Linked DNA regions of Homo sapiens: region 1 is linked to region 2. The links are contacts of gene promoters, found by promoter capture Hi-C in human tissues and cell types (Jung and others, 2019). All regions are on one chromosome and are shown on one strand. Each heading gives the region's core, a stretch centred on a gene start or on the middle of the fragment in contact. The rest is flanking DNA. Distances are from core to core; before and after follow the strand shown. Region 1 overlaps SLC14A2 (solute carrier family 14 member 2). Region 2 holds the start of PSTPIP2 (proline-serine-threonine phosphatase interacting protein 2).

What was found. The method cuts DNA at HindIII sites, captures the fragments that hold promoters and counts their contacts. A contact is called where the count stands out against the background at its distance.
Region 1: a contact is called between a fragment that was not itself captured here and the fragment with the promoter of PSTPIP2 in region 2, in 2 of the 25 tissues and cell types used here (H1 embryonic stem cells and aorta).

What each region holds. Positions count from the first base shown.
Region 1 is chr18:45,637,388-45,640,255 of GRCh38, forward strand. SLC14A2 (solute carrier family 14 member 2) reads left to right here. Exons shown (of 20, transcript NM_007163.4): 7 at 2,359-2,506. All of the region lies in intron 7 of LOC105372093 (a long non-coding RNA gene), which reads right to left. Among named protein-coding and RNA genes, the nearest start is that of SLC14A2, 23 kb to the left of the region's middle. The HindIII fragment of the contact is 5,893 bases long and covers 1-2,868 here.
Region 2 is chr18:46,070,957-46,073,873 of GRCh38, forward strand. PSTPIP2 (proline-serine-threonine phosphatase interacting protein 2) reads right to left here and starts at 1,304. Exons shown (of 15, transcript NM_024430.4): 1 at 1,200-1,304. The coding sequence starts at 1,232. RefSeq lists silencers at 840-1,219, 1,260-1,309, 1,440-1,599 and an enhancer at 1,209-1,710. The HindIII fragment of the contact is 22,245 bases long and covers 1-2,917 here.

The DNA.
Region 1 (2,868 bases), core at 138-2,637, 430 kb before region 2:
ACTTTTTCAGATACTGATAATACAAGACAATGACATCCTGCTCTTAGGAAGCCTACATTCTATACGGGGAAACAGATAACATGCAAGTGAACAGATAAGCGTTGACAGTACAGAACTGTGGTGGTTGAGTGAAAGATATTAGATAAAATGTATAGTCAGATAAAGGGGCAAGATACTAAAATAAACATTTAAAATTGGGATTTTAAAGGCATTAGCATAGAAGACAGAGGGTTAATTTTTATATACTCTCTCTCTTAGTGGTTCTCAGGCAGGGATAATTTTGCCCCTTGGAGACATTAGGCAATGTCTGGAGACATTTTTATTGTCAAGACTAGAGAGGTCCCCAGCACGCTGCTCCCAGGCCACTTCCCTCTTTCTCTTTGAAACAACAGAGAAAGGCCTTCCTTTTCCTTTTTGTTTAATCAGCTTATTGTTGCTATATAAGAATTATGAGGAGTGTGAAGAAGGCCTGGTGCTTAGTAAATTTCCATGGCACACCTGACTGCCCTTCACACCAGGGTGTCAGCTGCGGCCTGGGAGCAGCGTGCTGGGAGGGAAGGCCGCCCTGGGGCACAGCTCACCAGGCTGAAATATAGATCCCAGCGGAGGAAGCTTCATTCTAAACCCAGGCTCCATTCCAAGGCCACTCATTCCCTCATTCCTCTCATTCTTGACCGCTTGGGCTTAAAATCTGCGTTCCCGGATGGAAAGGTGGACGTGAACTCCCCTCAGCATCCCGCATTCCTCAGATGTTGGCAATCATGGGATATTTATTAAATAGACTTCCAGCCTGTTCCCAACATTTAAGCTGAGTTCCCTGGTCTGGTACAAAGTGTTTTCTGGGTTTCTATAAATAAATATGATTGAGTACCCCTCCCTTGCCATTCCTTTCGCAAGATTATAAACTCTGGTCCAAACAGCATTTGGTTATTAAAAGACCATTCATTCAGAGACAAGAGTGAGCAAAGTTTAAGAGCCCTCTAGGCTCTTCAAATACTACTCCCTGAAGAAATCATACTTATTCCAGAATTAAATCAAATTGTCAAAAAGTACAAAATTTGGTCCAAAGGGAGAAACTAAATTATTCCCAACATCTACAGCAACGTCTACAGTAGATCATCTATAACTAATCTCCCATCGCACACTAGACTCACCTGAGGACCTGCCATGCCCCATATCAATTAAATCAGAATGTCTAGGGAAGAGCTGGGCATCAGTATTTGTTTAAAGATTCCCAGGGGATTCCACTGTACAGCAAAGTTTGGGAACCACTGACCTAATCAATTCCTATTTGTTAAGCACCTATGGTGTACCTGGGCATAAAGGGCCCTGTCCTCACAGAGGTCATGTGACCTGGCAATGGTGAAAAGAACTACAGAGTCTTAAAGCTGGAAGATCATCTGCCAAGCCAGCCTCTTGTTACAGACGAGGATGTGACATGCTCACAGTCACACAGTGAACTGTGCAGAGCCCTGATGGAAGCTAGAGCCCTCTACTCCCAGGCCAGTGCTCTGCCTGCCCTGCCATTCTCCCTCCTTTCTTTTTCTGCCCTCAAAGGACTCCAAAAATATCGACAATTCAGCCTGGCCACAGAAAAGCCATCTGTCAGCACTGCCAAACAAATTCTCCCCAATTCCAGCACCAAGTTACTCTCAGGCTCAGGGATGTCTGGGCTTCAGGCCATTCTCCAGATGTGCCACATACTACCTTTCTACAATGCTATGCGGTCTTCGAGAGCAGGGGGCATGCCTACTGCTCCTTTCCAAAGGCTCACAACCCCCCAGGGTAGCAGTGAATGGGCAGGGGCCGCCAAAGAGGACGTGTCAGCAGTGGCTTGACAAAGAGACAGCAAGGGTGACAAAGACCTCAGACCTGAGCTAGGGGTCAAGCTCAGAGCCTCTAGCCTGCACTTGACCAACAACAGGCTGGGTGACTTTTAGTCAAATCATACATCAAAATGGCCTACTGTATTTTCAATATTCCTAGAATATTTGTATGGATTTCAGAAGGTCTAGAGGAAATCCCCGAGAGCCCTGAAACTCCCAGCGGCATTCTAGGGAGGAGGTGCATTCTGGTCCCCTCAAAGCAGAAGCCGTATGTTCCTCAGAAGCATCCATGCCCAGCCCATGTTGGGGGCCCTGGCTTTGCATGAGGGATGCTCACATGCCTGCTGGGTGGTAGAGTGAGGAGCTGTTTGTTCCAGCTCATGCCTCCCATGTTCTCTCACATGCTGGAGGGTACAGTCATCCTCCCGTTCCACTCCATTACTCCCCCGAGGAATGGCTCAAATCTGGCCCTGAGTCTGGTTTTTGCATTATTGTCCATGCTCCAGTGACCTGTATTCTGTTAACTTTGCAGCTGTTACAAGCCATCCCTGTTGGGGTCGGCCAGGTGTATGGCTGTGACAATCCCTGGACAGGCGGCGTGTTCCTGGTGGCTCTGTTCATCTCCTCGCCACTCATCTGCTTGCATGCAGCCATTGGCTCAATCGTGGGGCTGCTAGCAGGTAGGACAGAGCTCCCTCTCTTCAGGTCCTCAGGATAATTCACTCAAGGTCACTTTTCCCCTACATACAGCAAATCTTCCAGACATTCTCTTCCCTGCAGTTTTAAATACTTTCAGGGAGACAGGCACGGTGACTTATGCCTGTAATCCCAGCACTTTGGGAGGCCGAGGCACATAGATGACCTGAACTCAGGGTGAAAACCCATCTCTACTAAAGAAAAAAAAGTACAAAAATTAGCTGGGTGTGGTGGTGGGCACCCATAATCCCAGCTACTTGGGGAGCTGAGGCAGGAGAATCACTTGAACCCAGGAGGTGGAGGTTGCAATGAGCCAAGATCGTACCACCTCACTCCAGCCTGGGAA
Region 2 (2,917 bases), core at 54-2,553:
GCCATGGGATCCCCCAGTCCTCCATTCTACCTGAAAAACTCGCAAGCCTCCCGTGAGAGCCATCTGTGGTGCCCTTGGTTCCTCTGTGAGGCTGCCACCACCCTGCACCCTAGGGTGAGTAGTGCCCCAGAAGGACCTCACAAACTCCAGTGAAGGGACTCACAGGCACAGTCTCAACTGTGTCCCTGAGGTCCCCAGCCAGGTTTCTCTACCCTGCAGCCCACGTGGGGTAGAGGGACCATCTAGGCAGCTGTGAAGCTACCTGGGTGGGTGGTGGGGGGAGGCAAGCAGGAGCCCCAGTAAGGAGTCAGGGCCCCTTGGCAGCTGCGGTCAACTTTGAGGTTTGCAGCCTCCTGCTCCTGTCTTAAAGGGATGAGGACAGCTCCTCTGAATGAGGGGGCATGGACCTTGAGGGGCACCTGGGGAGTGAGAGGACAGAGGGAAGAGGACTAGACAGAGGAGGGGGACAGGCAGACCTGCTCCCTCCAGGCTGGGCTGGCCCTACCGGGCTGGGTGGGGTACCCCCTCCAGCTTATAGGGTCTCCCACACCATCAGCCCCGCTATGGGGCCTGGACGGAAGGGCTGGGGCAATGGCCTGGGGAGGGGGCTCGGGAAACAAGGCTGTAGAACAGGGAAAGCTCCAGCAAAGGGAAGCCCTCTATGCTGTACGTTTCCTGGAAAGGACGATCCCGGGGGGCAGCTGCTGCTGTCAACCCGGTAAAGCTCACAAGCCCCCACACCAGATCCCCCCAGATCCTCTCACGGCTCAGCTCCAGGGACCGGCAGAGACTCTCCCCGGACGGGTCTCGCCTCCCTAAGGGTCTCTGCTTCGCCTGTGAGAGGAGGGGTTGATGTCCTGACTCTAAGGTGTCTCGGCTCTCTGCGTCCTCAGGAGCACGCGCTGCTGGGGGCGCGGGCGGCAGAGGGTGGGCCCTGGAGTCCGAGCCCCCGGGACTCGCGGGCACGCGGTGGGTAGCGGGGGACAGAGAGGGAACAGCAGCCCGGCGTCCGCTCCAAGTCTGCCCCTCGAGCAGTGGGGCTGGGGCCCCGATCCCTTCACGCGCGAGCTCCGCCAAGCCCCCGGGCGCGCGGTCACCGAGTGGCGCCGGAGCTGGGGAGCCCCCCACGCCCGCCGCGTTGGCCTCCCGCCCGGGCCGGGTCCTGAGCCCCGCGATCCGCTGTCGGCCCCACGACTTACCCAAAAGTTTCCCTTGAACAGTGAGCGCGTCATCGCAGCGCGAGTGGGGGCGCGGAGGAGAGCCGGGCCGCAGGTAGCACAGAGCGGGGAGGCCTGACTGCCACTGCCCGCGGCTCCGCAGACTCAACTTCTGCGTTCCACACTCGCGCAGGGAAGCCGCCCCCGGGTCCTAAACCACTCCCGATTGCGACGGCCGCCGTCGGCGCTCTGCGCTCCCTGCGCGAGACCTGGGCGGGACCCTCGGCGCTCACCCGGCCAGGGGCTGCAGCCCGCACCCGGACCCAGGCCCATTTAAAGCCCCACAGCGTCGGGCCACGATCAATATATCAGCCCGAAGCTAGCTGCCTCCTTCTGGAAGTCTTTGGGTATTGGAAATAACTGGTCCTGGCTTGGGTTCCTGCCCACAAGGCCCCCTGGACAGCACGAAATCCAGGCTCTGCGGGGTGATAGACGGGATCTGATCAGATGGTCGCGAGGACCCGGTTTAAGCTACAGAAGGCCTGGGGCCGACAACTCCCGCAGACGCCTTGGCTTCACGGCGGGCCCCACCGGCACCTGCTGCAGATCAGGCCCTGGGGGACGGTTCATTTTTTATTTTACTTTTTGTTGTTGCAGGTGTTTTTAATGAATGGGGTCACGTTTTAGTCTAAAATGTCATGGAGAGGTCATCTCTGCTGTTTCCCCTTGACTCTAGTCACTTGGTGGTGTCCTAACAGGGCTTCCAGGAGCTCAGCCGCTCTCTGACTCCCTTTCCATTCTCAAAAGGCAAGACCCTTCCCTGCCCATTCCACCCCAGCAAGAGGGGCCCAAGATTCCTTCTTCTCCCTCCACTCTTCCACCCTCACAAATAAAACCCCAGGGCAGGTCAGACCCCTCTCTGCATTGTAGTAGATTGGTACAAAAGTAATTGCGGTTTTTGCCATGACTTTTAATAGTAATGCAGGGCTTATGACAAAGTACTGCCTGGTGCGACAGGCCCGAAGCCCAACCTGAGGCCCAGAGGGGTTGAATGGCTTGCCCAAGATCACAGTTTATTTAAGGGATGAAGAGCTCAAGGTTAGAGCTCTGCCCTTCTAAATAGATGCAAAGACAGACATCCTTCCTGGGGCAGATCCATCCTGGGCAGAGGAATAGGTGCTCAAAGTGGGGAGGATAAAGGTCAAGGTTGCCAAGACTGGCACCAGCCCAGCCTGGAGAAGCAAGCACTCACCCCTGGAGCAGGTTCTAGCTACACCCAGACACAGTGAAAGGGCAATTGCTAGAATTATGTGAAGCACCTGGAACAAGTTCTGCTCCATAAAACTGCAGCCAGCCCCACTCAGATGAACTCCCACCAATAAAGTCATCCACAACTGCAAAGATGGAGAGGTGGCCTCCAGCCACCAAGCATCTCCAAGGGATGCATCCATTTACGTACTTGCTCATATCCTTTGAAAGCAGTGAGATTAGAAGGAAGGCAGAGAAGCCTGGCAGAACCATCAAGGGGCAGCAGAGGACGTGGTAGGCACTAGGAAGCTAGGCTTAACTGCAGGGGGTAAGAAATGGCACAAACTGGGGACATAGAAGCGGGAGAGCTGAAGACACCACTAAGGTTTTTCCTGGAAGTTTTAAATATTCTGGAAAAATAGTTTAGATACAATTCTAATTGTCACATTTTAATTTTTAATACATGTATAATTTTAAGTTATTAGAACGTTTCACAAGCTCTCACAGTACAT